2 separate regions of the Homo sapiens genome follow, and region 1 is linked to region 2. The links are contacts of gene promoters, found by promoter capture Hi-C in blood cells and fetal thymus (Javierre and others, 2016). All regions are on one chromosome and are shown on one strand. Each heading gives the region's core, a stretch centred on a gene start or on the middle of the fragment in contact. The rest is flanking DNA. Distances are from core to core; before and after follow the strand shown.

The links. The method cuts DNA at HindIII sites, captures the fragments that hold promoters and counts their contacts. A CHiCAGO score of 5 or more calls a contact.
Region 1: a contact is called between a fragment that was not itself captured here and the fragment with the promoter of AGMO in region 2, in 1 of 17 cell types (endothelial precursors). The highest score is 5.4, in endothelial precursors.

What each region holds. Positions count from the first base shown.
Region 1 is chr7:16,556,322-16,563,689 of GRCh38, forward strand. It overlaps LRRC72 (leucine rich repeat containing 72), which reads left to right. Exons shown (of 9, transcript NM_001195280.2): 4 at 1,039-1,120; 5 at 2,568-2,678. Among named protein-coding and RNA genes, the nearest start is that of LRRC72, 33 kb to the left of the region's middle. The HindIII fragment of the contact is 1,994 bases long and covers 5,025-7,018 here.
Region 2 is chr7:15,557,728-15,564,565 of GRCh38, forward strand. AGMO (alkylglycerol monooxygenase) reads right to left here and starts at 4,288. Exons shown (of 13, transcript NM_001004320.2): 1 at 3,993-4,288; 2 at 2,414-2,544. The coding sequence starts at 4,118. LOC124901591 (a long non-coding RNA gene) reads left to right here and starts at 1,130. Exons shown (of 3, transcript XR_007060217.1): 1 at 1,130-1,300; 2 at 1,454-1,586; 3 at 2,369-2,473. The HindIII fragment of the contact is 1,289 bases long and covers 3,303-4,591 here.

The DNA of each region.
Region 1 (7,368 bases), core at 4,772-7,271, 1.0 Mb after region 2:
TTTCCTTAAGGAACACCCAAAACTCTAGTGTTCAAGTGATTAACTGTACAAGTCAAAGTAAGCATTTGGGATGGTCAAGAAAATGGAGGTTCACGAGCATAGGAGTTGTCAGGAAAGGCTTTGTGAAAAAGGATGAACTCTGAATGATGAACAGGATTATACTGTGCCTTGCCCTCTAATTGCAGATGGTGACTGGTTGAGCTGTTAGCACTGCGCCTGATCTGGCAGAGCTGCCTCCTGTGTGTATTCAGATTACAGAGCCCATGGCTAAACTGAGATCTGTTTACTAGAAGGGCAGAGGACTAGAGAAGAGGAGATGGTTATACATGAGGCCATAAAGAAAGAGTCCAGGAAATCTGACTCAAAGTGCTGAAGCAGGTAGAAGTTTAGAGAAACAAAAAGTGGGTCAATAGGGCAAAAAGACAGTAAGTAGTAAGATACAAGGAGTTCAACCCTTGGTTTCAACAGATTTCTGCAAGTGAAAACGTACTGCGGCAGGCCACTCATGCACGGTTTAGTATGCCTTGCTGGCCGACAGCTAATCCTTAAAAATAATTTCGAGTGTACCAAGAAGAAAAGACATACAGGCAAAGGGAAATCATGACTCCTACAGATGCAGAAATGGCCTCGGCATAATCTAAGGGGAGAGCCCTTGGCACATGATAATATTAGGTGGTGGATATGTGGTGCTGGATCTAGTGAGAGTGTATGGAGCAGAAGTAGAAGAAATATTGTCAGCGCAAAAGGGCTAGGCCAGGTTACAGAGGTTTGGAAAGCCTAGCAAGCAAGTTTGGTTGAGATGTGGTAAGAGAGGTTTAAGTTAGATAAAAATATTCTTTTCATCACATTCTCCTCAAAGACAATCCAAATGTAACTTACAGCCAGACCAAAAGGTCACAAATAAGAATAGCAGAGGTCAAACTTTTATTATCTTATTATAATTAAATATATATTATTTATGTATATCAGGTTATTTATATTGATGTAATATATACAGTTATTATAGAAAGTATATTGTTCTCTAACTCTCATTTTTAGCTCCATGGAATAACATTTCTAACTAGAAACTATTGTCTGACAGAACTATATCTAAACAACAATGCAATATTTGAGATAGAAGGTACGTCTTAAATTCTCTGTTGATTTAATAAATTTTCAATTAAGTAATAACTTTCAACTATGGTAATTGCTAATGACAGACAAAAATCTGTTTTAACATTTCTGTTGAAAATATATTAAGAAATGTATTTTTTAAATGTTTTAATGTACATTTGATATTAAGAAATGTGCTATTAGATTACTTTTCTAATTTAATATTGCCATATATCTTATTCAAAATGTAAAATAATTTTAACAGGTATTTTAGACATAAACTAGGCATGTGGAAGCAAATTTTAACAATAGTTGGGAGCATTGATAAATACAAAAACTTTATAAATAGTCTTAAAATTTTTTATTGGCTATATGTTCTACCAGCCAAATTCCTGCTTTGACCCTGAATTAATTTTATATGCAAAACACTCTCAAAACTGATCATTTCAAGCCAGTTATAAAAGCATGTGGCATACCATGATCATGAAATACAAAGAAGCACAGTACAAAACACTTTTCTTTAATATCATATATCATAGAATCAAAATGTCTTAAATTTTAAGGCCCATCATGATGTCATGCACCGCTAAGAAAGAACATCTTGCCAACGAGGCTACGACATGGCTATCAAAAGGCACATCCCACTTTCATTTATGTTAAAAATGTGGGAAAATATACAATTTACAATCTATGAAAATGATTTGAATATTTGGCTTCCAGTTATGTACAGAAAATACTTAGCTATGCAATTTGGAGGAGATGAGTAATTTTTCCCTTGACTAGCATTATAAATCTAAGTAGCATTGACAAGGAAAAAAAACCCCAAAACTAAAACCAAACAAAAAGAAGAAAATAACCCCTCCAAAATCAATCAAACAAACAAAATCATTGCTACATTTTAAAAAGTAAAACAGGCCGGGCGCGGTGGCTCATGCCTGTAATCCCAGCAGTTTGGGAGGCCTAGGCGGGCAGATCACCTGAGGTCGGGAGTTCGAGACCAGCCTGGCCAACATGGTGAAACCCCCGTCTCTACTAAAAATACAAAAATGAGCTGGGCATGGTGGTGGACGCCTGTAATCTCAGCTACGTGGGAGGCTGAGGCAGGAGAATCCCTTGAACCCAGGAGGCGGAGGTTACAGTGACCCGAGATTGTGCCATTGCACTCCAGCCTGGGCAACAAGAGTGAAACTCCATCTCAAAAAATAAAAATAAAAAAAAGGAAAACAATGACAGTGGAAAGAAATTTACTCTTTATTCCCACATCACAATTAATTATATGAATTATGCCTTATTGTATTCTTAATAATAATTTATAATATATTATTAATAGTTATTCCTTCTTTAACCAGCTATCATATGTTTTCCTTTTTAGTTAGCATGTTAATTAGCATTAAAAATGTTTATTTTTATTTGCAATAAAAAAATAAACTGAAAAAAATGTTTAAAATCTTGTAAAAATATTCTGTTTTTTTTAGGTCTGCATTATTTGCCTTCATTGCATATACTCCTGCTACACCACAATGAGCTAACCAACATTGATGCAACAGTGAAGGAATTAAAGGGAATGCTAAATCTGAAGATCCTAAGTAACAATTTGCAATTTTATATGGCCATAAGTTAAAATAGTATTAACATAAGACATTTTTCCATTTATCAAGTTTAAAATTAGAGAGGCAATGTTTATAATTAAGATATTTAGGCTGGGCACTGTGACTCACGCCTGTAATCTCAGTGCTTAGGCAGGCTGAGGTGGGCGGATCACTTGAGCCCAGGAGTTCAACACCAGCCTGAGCAACATGGCAAAACCCTGCCTCTACCAAAAATACAAAAATTAGCCAGGCCTGGTGGCGTATGCCTGTAATCCCAGCTACTTGAGAGGCTGAGGCGGGAGGATCACTTGAACCCAGGAGGCAGAGGTTGCAGTGAGCCAAGATCGCGCCACTGGACTCTATCCTGGGTAACAGAGCAAGACCCTGTCTCAGAAAAAAAAAAAATTAGATATTCCTGAAAATAAGGCTAGATCTTATTGTCTTTTAAGATACGCTTTTGAAAAAACAACAGATAGAAAAATTTTTGTTTGTGAAATGCTATCTATCACATGGCTAATGAAAATGACAAAAGTAGCAAGAGGATTTACATGTTTAAATTTGTTTTTGGTTTTATCTCAAAAGTAAGTTTTAACACATATGATTCCATTTATGTAAGTGTCCAAGTAGGCACATCTATAGGGACAGCAACACCGAGAGGTAACTGTTTTTAAATAGATGAGTGTTGCCAACGGCCAAGGAACTGGGAGTTGTGACAGCTAGAGAGTAAAGGGTGTGGGGTTATTTTGGGGGTGATAAAACATACTAAAATTGACTGTGGTGATAAGTTGCATAACTTTGTGAATAAACCACAAACACACAAATCATATGTTTAAGCTGGGTGAACAGTGTGATACATAAAGTATATTAATAAAGCTGATACCAAAAAAAAAAAACTAAAAGACTTTTTAAGCTTTCAACTGGAGGCCCAGCAAACTTTATTCATATATATTGAATCACACCCAGTAAGGAACTAACCTATTGGAAAGAAGTGTGAGATGAGTCAAAAATAAATAAATAATACACCACTCCTACTCTCAATAAACTTATGGTCTTGAAGGGTAAATAAACATGTATACAACCACAATACAAGATAAAGGATTCTGGGTGTACTGAGGTAAAAGACCTACAGATCAACGAGTAGGTTTTCAGACTTTAGAGTTTAGAGACCTCTTTATAATAATGTAACGCAATAGATATATTTTTTAATTCCTTTTCTATTCATTTCTCAGAATTGCCTGAGACAGTGTTTTGAACAGTTGTAAGCTAGTATTGATGGTGAAAGTTCTAATCAGATAAATGTACAGAGAGTTACTAAGGTTTCCATATATTGTTAGTGTTATCAGTTATATCTACTGTACTGAGGGAAAATGATTCATTTGTTATAGTTAGATTCTTTAAACCCAAGTATTAAAATCACAAAATTACACCAAGTTCATGGCAATTTTATGCTTATTTTGGAGACGTGAGAAGGCTGCCTGCTGTCAGGAGTTTTTTTCACAGCTTTTGGATCTTCTGTGAAAGAATTGGCCTGCATATTTGAGTCACCTGGCCCCTGTCTGCTGGAAAAATGCTGCTATAATTAAAAGACTAGTTATGCTAGACCTAGAACACTTACCTTTGTTTTTCTATAAAATGGGCTGATAGCTACCTCTCAGGGTTGCTTCAAACATTAAGATAACTCTGTTTTTTTTTTTTAAGAAAACGTTTCTCACCATTAATGTTATTTTGAAGCAACAACAAAAATTGAAATTCTAAAAAAAGAAAAAAATTGTTTTATTGTGGATTATGTAAATCAGATAATGAAATAAATTGCATCCAGTCTCGAAATTCTGCTAATAGACTCAATAAAACGATATTTTAAATAATAATCATATAGTAATATGTTTGAATGTCTTTCCTGTTAAAAAAATGATTTATTATAGTCGCATTTAAATCTTTACAGCATCCTATGATGTGATTAGAATTACTCCCTTTAATCATGGAAATGAAAAGCTCAGAGATTTAACCAAACTCCTAAGGAGTGTTGAAACATAAACTCATGCCTTGTTTTACTTATCATTTATTTATTCATTCATTCAATAAATATTTATAATCTATTCATTCATTCATTTAATAAATGTTTATCACACATTCACTACATGACACTATTCTAGATAATAGGACTCAAATTTGAACAAGAAAGACCCAGTCTATACCTATATAGGGCTTACAAATTAGTAACACTCAGCCTAAATATTTCTTAGAGTCGAAGGGGTCTAATGCAAAATGATTTAATTTGCTACTTTAAAAACTCTATAATTTAAGGAAACTTGTTATAAAACAACATTTGGAGAGTGGTAAACAAGCTTACTCCCACAGTAATAAACAGAGTTATGCCCATAGTAATAAATAAGGTTATACCCTAAACAAAGGTGCCCAGCCCAGGACTGAATGGATCCTGAAATCCAGCCCATGCCCTGCTTGTCAAGGGTGTATGTGAGTGTAGAATTGTGCCAGGCATGAGGAGTGGGAATTTTCTAGTTTTTAAATACCAGCCTGGTAGTACAATGTCCATATCATTACCAGTCACAATAGTTTACGACCACTACTTAAAATCACAGTGACGTATTTCAAGTTACATAACTATAACTTTCCAGTTGAGAATCTTGTTGTGGGGTCATTTGTTTGAAATGGAGAAAATGCTATGTCCAATTACAAAAAACAAAAAGCATTTTCTAAAAATTCACATTTTGAACTCATGTTCCATTTTGGTTAAAGATATTGTATGAAAAATAGTTTGTATTTATTAGACAACTAACGTTATTTGTGCAGTCATGTCCTCAGATTAAGTTTCTATGAGCCTCATTTGCAATCACAGATTAGCTTTAGCTGATAAACTAAAATGAGAACTCTATGTATTTTCAAATGTAGTCATTTTTGTCTTTTTAAGTTGTAAATCCATATAAAATTATAAAGTGTTATTATTCCACTTAAATTACAAGTTCTTCAGAGGGTGAGAAAATAGCCTGAAGGGCAAAACGCTAATCCATTCTCAGCATCGCACCTTCCATTGGCATTTATGAGGAGAATTGCCAAGGACTGCCTAGGAGACGCATGGCTGAGAGCTTCAGGGAGGCCTAAACCAGCTGCAGAGTGTGAGGTCCTGGGAACTGGAATTCCTGTCTTCAGGCAGAGTCAGGGGGCCCCACCTCTTCTCTCTAGGCAGTCTACCTTTCCACACCCTCTCTTTCTAGCTCAGTTTTCCTCTTCCCTTCCCTCCTCCAAACTCTTTCTAAATCAGAATCCACATGTGTCAAAGACCCACTTTGTGGCTGATGGCTTTTATTAACTCCTGCCCCCTTTCCAGTACTAAGGGAAAAAAACCACCGCCACCAAAAGCCGCAGCAACAAAATGCTTAATCCACTCTCCTGTTCTAAACCTTCAGTTTTCTCGTTTCTTTCTAATTTTCTGTTTTATTAAACTCCACTGTTGGAAAGTATGCTTAAGACTCCTGCATGCCATAATTGTTAAGACCTGCTTCCTACCGGAGCTTCCAGGAATCAGCCTTGGGAACAGGGAGTTCCTCCTTTCGAGAGAGGGTCTCCATGTTTCCACAGGTATTGCCTTTAAACACTTCCTGCCGTTGTCTTCAGCAGTGGCCCCAATCCACTGCCCATGGCAAAAAGCCAGGGGAGCAGAGGGATTCTGGGATACGGGGAGGGACTAGGATCTCCAGGGTCCCTTCCTTTGAGCCTCTTTTCCTATAATGCCCTTCCAGGTGGGACCACCCCTCCCAAAAGACAAAACAATTCACCAAAGGAAAAGAACCAACAGTGTTTTTCACCACTGTTTGTCCTGAAAAAGAGGATATTCTGATCCCTCCTCTCTCGATCCTCTGCTTTATCGTAGTTTGCCTTTTACAATCAGGGGTGATTTCCATATTCAGTAAAAAGCACATGGTGTGTGGTGGCCACCAGATTTTTAGTTAAAACAAGATGGTGATTAACAATGGAGATGCTGACCTTACTAAGTAACCTTGACCCGGAGCCTCACAATCCTCCTATCTGATTATTGACAGCTGAACTTCCTTCCACAGGCCGTTCTCTATAGGCTTTTAACTTCTCCATGTCATTTTCTTTTTCCCATATATTAAAATTGGGATGTTGGTCTCTTATTAATTACATCAACTTTCTTCGAAGGCAGCCTTAAAAACATTGGGGTTCATTTAAATAATGATTTTAAATTCTGCTTTAAAAGTTTACAAAAAAATAACTGGAGCCAATTATTTAGATGGCTTTTTTTTTTCCTCTTCTGTCTCGATAATAAGTAGCTTCATACACGTGACTCCTGTAAGCCAAGCTTGTGCGGTAAGGTAGTAGAGACATTTTGATATATCATTGGGTAAATGTAAATTGCTTAGACTCAGAATCCCAAATTAAGATAAGCAAGACAGTGCTGGCGCCACTGAGGTATACTCTGTAAGTAGCCTAGAGGGAAGGTGGATTAAATAGTATTAACCTATTGAAAGTGAAAGTGTAAGCAATTTCTCTTCATGGTTTCTAAAAGAATGTGCCCATACATCATAGAAGGCTTTCAGAACATTCAGAAACAGGAAACTGATTTCACATCTTAGACATTTAATTTATGTTGATTTTAGCAGCATCAATCCAAAACTCATAAATCCAAAATGTTAAATGTTTAATAGTA
Region 2 (6,838 bases), core at 3,038-5,537:
CCTTGAAAAACTTTTTAAAAATCCACATTTCATAATTTAGAATTGTTCTTTACATCTACAAGGAAGAAAGGAGTAATTTGCTATTCTCATTTAAAATACTTTAGAAAAATATTCTCCAAATTAAAGTTCATAACCTTTTACCTTTCTCTCAAAGGGCACCAGAGTTAACAGTTTGTGTTAGTTTAAGGACTGTTATGAGTAGTGGGTGAAGGAAAAGAACCTCATGTTCTATCCCTGAAGGACTGGTTTGTTTTGGTTTCTTTTTTTCCTTCTCTCTCTCTCTCTCTCTCTCCCCCCTTTCCCCTTTCTCTCTGCTTTTTGGGGTGTATTTTTTGTAAAAATATCTCTTTTATTCTTGTTTTCCTGTTATAACTCTGTACCTTTTTAAAATAACACTGCTAAGCAAAAATATTGTATTGAGGATACAGTTTGTATTTCTGGTACTTACAATGTTATGATAAGAGAACAATCTAATTTCATTTGGAACAAAATCAAACTTTAAAAGGTAAAAAAAAAAATTCTGAAGAGTTCATTCAATTTGCTGTCAAATTCATTGTCAAAATGCTTAACAAATGCATTCCAATTCAGTAAAATATATGACCCATAATCGTATATACAGGGCAATTTTCAGTTATTGGGTGACGTTTATAGTTTATCAATAATCTGATTTCCATAACCTATACACTTAACTTTCTGAGAATGAGCTAAATTAACCAACTGGGTATTTTTAAATAACTAAATCTACATCTAAATCTATATACCCTTGGGCATGTTGAATGTTTTTCTTGTTCATTTCTGCTTAAAGGGGACAAGTATTATAATAAAGGAAATTATCTATAATTGTAAATTCTTATTCATGATAATCTGGGAATTAGCTGCAAATTTCTGGAGACATTATCTTCTTCTGATTTCAACTGCAAAATGCAACAATTACAAGTAGTTTTTCAGAGTAAATATTATTAATATTACTTCTACTATATACCTAATAATGCACTTTTCTCAAACACTTATTGAAAAAATTTTACTTTTAAGTTTACTTTTATTTAAACTATTTTATGTAATATATGAAATTATTCCACCTTTTTTAGATATTTAAAGTTTTAATGTTATTTTTTAAAAATCCACCTTAGCTTCCCACTGGGCGGTTAATAGAAACATTCCAAAGCAATGAGCACCAGTCAGAAGTAAAGCTCTTAAAACAGGACAAGAAGAAATGGGTGGGAAGCTGGAATGAGAACATTCATCAGCAGCTCAAAGCACAGACTTCTAAGGGAATCTTTCCTCACCCTCTGCCTCTTTGGTAAGCCCTCACGTGTTGAAGATGACTTCCATTTATTGGTCTTTCCTCTTCACACATTATAATGTACTCTTTCTAAAAAATAGTAGGTCATTTATATCTTACTATTATTGAGTCCCAATATCATCTAATTTTATCATCAACATAATGTTACAGGAATATTACTGCTTTTGGGGAAACTACATGCAACAGACATCATTCCAGGCACAGGAGCTAAAACTATTAAGAACATACACCTCTTGCTCTCAAGTTGTGTGCAAGCTAGCAGGAAGGGCTGAGAGAAAAACAGGTAAGCATCATGTCATGTGATAATTCTAGATCTGGGATAAGCACACAATTCCATGGGACTGTAGTGTAGGAATGCAGGAATGCCTAACATAAGGTTGGAAAACAGATAAAGCTTGCTGAAGAGTGTGATGTCTATGCTTAGACCTAATGAATGAATCTGAATTGGCCTGGATGGCTTTCCAGGCAGAGGGAAGTGCCTGTGGCATGTGGACAATGGCAAGTAGTAAAGCATGACAGGATAAACATGACAAATAGACAGGAGAGTGGACGATCCAAAAGCAAAGCCAGAGAAACAATGTTCTCTATAGTTCAAGACAGGGATTTTTACCTTACACTTGAGGCAATAGAGAGCCAGTGAAGGGTTTCCACTGGATTCATATTATGGAAATGCTTGGCTGCAAACGGGGTTGTACTAGAGCCAGACACCAATTAGCAAACTATTGTAGTTATTCAGAGATTTGTGTGACCTGCTCTAGGGAATGGCTACACCCGAGACAGCTATTCTTTCTGAAGCTGGAAGAGACAAAACACAATTTTAATAGAGAACCAGACCATAACTCAGAGTTGGAACCTCAATAAGGCAAATGAAGCACTCATTTCAAAGGGATATCAACAGAGTCAAGATAAATAATGTTTGCGGTGATTTTTTAAATAAGTGCAAAAAATCAATGAAGAACAAAATATCAAAATTTTAAATAATGACATGAACTGAATTTTTTGGGAAAATTTGTGTAAATAAACTAATTCTCCCATGCATTGGGTTCCTTTGCCCCTCATACTTAGGCAATTTCAGTTTTTATGCTCAGCGTTGTTGACCATCTAACTCACCTTGGAAGTCGAGACAGAACACCAGCTGAGATTGACGTTAAAGCATCATCCAGGCGACCTGGTGGCTTTCCTTTGAGAATCCAGCTGACAACAAGTTCAAGCAGCATCAAAGAAATGAAAAATGGAGTTGCCTGGAAAGGAAGTTGCAGAAAAGAGATGCTATTATGTTCCATATGAAATTATTTTACATTTCCTGATTAGTCATTTCAGAATTGAAAGGCCCAGATTTGGGAAGCCCTGCAGGAGATGGTAGACACTCATTTTAGAGGATTACTTCCTACACAGTGGTAAAGAAGTCTAATTATTTTAGACATACACTAAACATGTGCTCAAATTCTATCATCCAATTTGAATATGAAATGTAATCATAGATATAACCACGATAATTATAATATTATAAGATTAAGAGGAACATCTTCCAAATTAGTTTAAAAAATACATTTAGAATAAGGTAGATAATTAGAGGTCTATTGTCTCTACATGTATAATTTAGACCCACTTCAAGAGGCTTTCCTTAAAGATGCACATAATTCTAATTTTTCATATTAGACTTACCAGAACTATTTCTAATGATGAAATTCAAAGAGTAGAGACAATTTTCTGCTTAGAATTTTAGAGAATATGGTAATTTTACATGTTTGCTTAAAACATGATTCAGATTTTATTCATTTGGTTTTGATTTTTGTTTCACATAATAAGAGATGTTTTGAAAGCTCCACTATTGGTGATGGAGCATTGAATTTGGTTTGATATTGCAGTATAAACAATAATAATTTATGAAGATATCAGTGCCACTTTTTTTAACTTAAAAACTCAGAAAGAAAGTGTAATATCTAATCTTGAAAAAGATACGGATTTTACTCATTTGGAAGCTAATCATGAGTTTTGAAGCTTTCTAAACTGAACTCTCAATAACATATTCTATGATGTCATTTTTTTTCTATTTCTGCCATGAACTAGTGAGTGTTGTAGGAATAACTTTGATAGGGTGGGGAACTTCAGTATTCAAGTTCTAATTCTGGATATTTCCACTTCCAATCATAGCCAGGAACCAGAAGTGAAATGTGCCTCTGAGCACTTCAGAGTTTCAAAGAAAACTTGGGTCAAATTCAAACTTAGGAAGTCAGAGCTGGACCTGGTCAAGCTGCATATCCTTCATTCTGCTGAACTACTCTACCAAATGAAAGAGGAAATAGTTTCCCTGGAAGGGGTGGACAAGTGAAAGATTTAAAAATGAAATTGTTACAAAGTTTACTGATGTGGTGTAACTATTTGTCATTGAGCTTCCAATAGCTACATTTACAATGCCATGGAGTCCAGGAAAACTTTAAACTTTTGTTTTTGTCATATTCTGGAGTGACATATAAAAGAGGGAATTTACAGGTGAAGATGGCTATGGATTGTAAGAAAATTCAAGTGGAAATTCTACTTTTGCTTCACGCCTTTAAGAAACTGAATTATTATTATTAGAATGTAATCATTTGAATAATGAAAGTGAACAAAACCCTAAGGAGATTGACCTTACCATTTATTAAGAAAGCAGCAAGAATAAGAGTAGCCTCTTCCAATAAAGTCTCACCTTTTTTACATAATCAGGCACCTCTTCTAATGTTTGGAATGAAGTTTCACTGGGTTTCATCGTGTAAAACAACATGCGAAATCCCTGGGAAACTGAAACATCCTGCTGGGCTTCTGGGTTCTTCATTTCTGCCCTTGTCTGATTCCCAGCTGGAGAATATTTAGGATTCAATGCTTGAAGCCTGAGGCTGAACAAAGAGGACGAGATGTGCAGCTCAGAACAAGCTCTTTGTCAGAGAACAGCTAAAACCAAAGCTCCACTGAGAGCACACTCAACAGCCGATTCTGTGTAGAGAGACAGGAAAATACAAGGATCAAGAACAAGTACAGAGTTCAGTGGGCGCTGGGCCAGAAACAGGGCATGTGGGGGAGGGAAAAGAGGACTCATACCCAAATCAAAGTCATACAGTGCAGTTTGACTGTAGGTGGAGCAAGTTACTACTTAAAAAAGAAGAGAAAAAACATCATAATAGTGTCTCGGAAAGAAAAAAGTGATAACGCAGGTATATGTTCACTCTGAAAAACTGGATAGAAATTCAAGCATCAAGTCACATAGAAAAACCTTTTTTTCTCCTCATTTAGAAATTTACAATGTGTTCAAGCTTGTAGTTTCTTTATTTCCTACAGAGACTGTGTATAGGCGAGCTACTTAATAATAGCTTGAAAGTCAGTAAGCACTGAATATCTGGCTCCTTATTGCCTATCTATATTTCTGTATCTGAATCATGTTATTACCACTTCTGAATGTTTGCAACCAGTTTAGGGGCATTTGGCTTATTACATAATCTACATTATTTAATGGAAAATTGGCTAGTCACATCTTCTCTATTCTTCTTAGTACTTATGGGAACTTTCTGATTAAAGAAGGTGCCAAGATGTTGCTGTGAGACCTGTTTCTGTTTTACAGAAAGAGCTTAAGTGATTGTACCTTTTAAGTAGATTAGAAGGCACTTAATTTATTACATTACCAGTGAATATGTGGAGCTTGCCAGAATAGCCTCAGCTCTTTACCCAAAACAGCTGTAATCATCCTTTAGCTGCCATTTCATCATTTAAAGATGTTTACATAGATCTAATTAAAGTATCAATGCACGATTGTTTTAGAAAAATATAGAAACTATAGATAAGCAATAATAAGCTGCCCAAAACGCTATTAACATTTTGGTACATGTATGGTCAGTTTTGCTATAATGTGATATATCCATTCCTAAAAATCACTATACTGTACAAAATTGTGCAATAAAAACCACGGGACTTGTGAGAAAAAATGTGATTAGGGTAAAATACTCAAAAACTTCATAATGACCCACAAGGAACAAGAAAAAAAGGATGAGAGCCTAATAAAAATGGTAGCACACTTTCACACGTTACATGGTTAAGATATACATAAATACTAAAATAAATATGATGCTTTACCTTGAAAAAGACCTGAAACTTGTTTTGGAAATTAGGCATTGGAAGATTTGCAAACTGCAAGTTACTTTAGCTTGTTGAAATGTGGGTTATCTGAAATCAGACAGAAAGTTGCAATATGACATATGGGTGTCAAGGCTCACAACACACAGGTGAAGTGAGGGTGTTACTATAAGTGGTGGGTGTATTTTGTGCATCCTAAGCCTTTCTGTTTTTCAGTTCAGTTTTTTAAAGTTCAACTACTCTTTTTCACTGAAAATAAAATCACACATGAGCATAGGCAGTATGCTCAAATTATTTTCTGGTATATTAATCACATTGGAACAAATTTAATCTCAAAGCACATGTTATAGCAGAATTGACTGTCCTTTCAGACCATTCCCATTACCAATAAGTACATATGGACATTAATTTTTAATAAAGGTGTCTGGGCGTGGTGGCTCACACCTGTAATCCCAGCCAGTACTTTGGGAGGCCGAGACGGGCTGATCACCTGAGGTCAGGTGTTTGAGATCAGCCTGGCCAACATGGCAAAACCCCGTGTCTACTAAAAATACAAAAATTAGCTGGGTGTGGTGATGGGCACCTGTAGTCCCAGCTATTCGGGAGGCTGAGGCAGGAGAATTGCTTGAACCCAAGAGGTGGAGGTTGCAGAGAGTGGAGATTTTGCCATTGCACTCCAGGCTGGGGGACAGAGCAAGACTCTGTCACAAAAACAAAAAAAAATTTAATAAAAATGATCATAGTAGGCATACTGTTTTATTACCTGCTTTCAAAACAATTTTGGAAATTAACAATGTGATACAAGAGAAAAAAATACAAACAATATAGCTGTATATAAAGTCAAAAGTGGCAGCATCCTTTCTTCTCAATATATGCACACCTTGCACTTCACTTCATAGGGATAACATATCCTCTTGGTGGGGTTTTTTTTTTTTTTTTTTTTTGCCATATCTGTTTTTTCCTAAAAGGGATAGTTATTATCATTATTACTATACAAATACGTTTCTATATACACATAATGGTTCGATTTTGCAATGGACCTTATCAAACATAAGATACAGCAAGTTCCTTCTTGGAGTCAATAACTTACCAGGAACATTTCTTTTTTAGTATATGATTATACAGGTACAGCCTTTTCTTCGTTGTTTTTACTGGCTGCAAAAGTGTGTGTGTGCATTTCAATGAGCAAAACAAAATTATTTCTAACTTTTTAAAGCAGAAGCAATTTTATACAAGAAAAAAGTTGTTACATAGATGATGGGAGAAGTAAAAAACCAAGCAGGAACAAAGAGGTAATCTAGAGATTAGTACCAATAGGAAGCCACTACCATTGTTAAATTGTAGGGACAAATGGAGAAGGTTGTATTAGTAGGGCCCAGGGGCTATGGTCATCTAGGAAAAGTTAGAACCACCATTGGCTTGTCTAGCAAG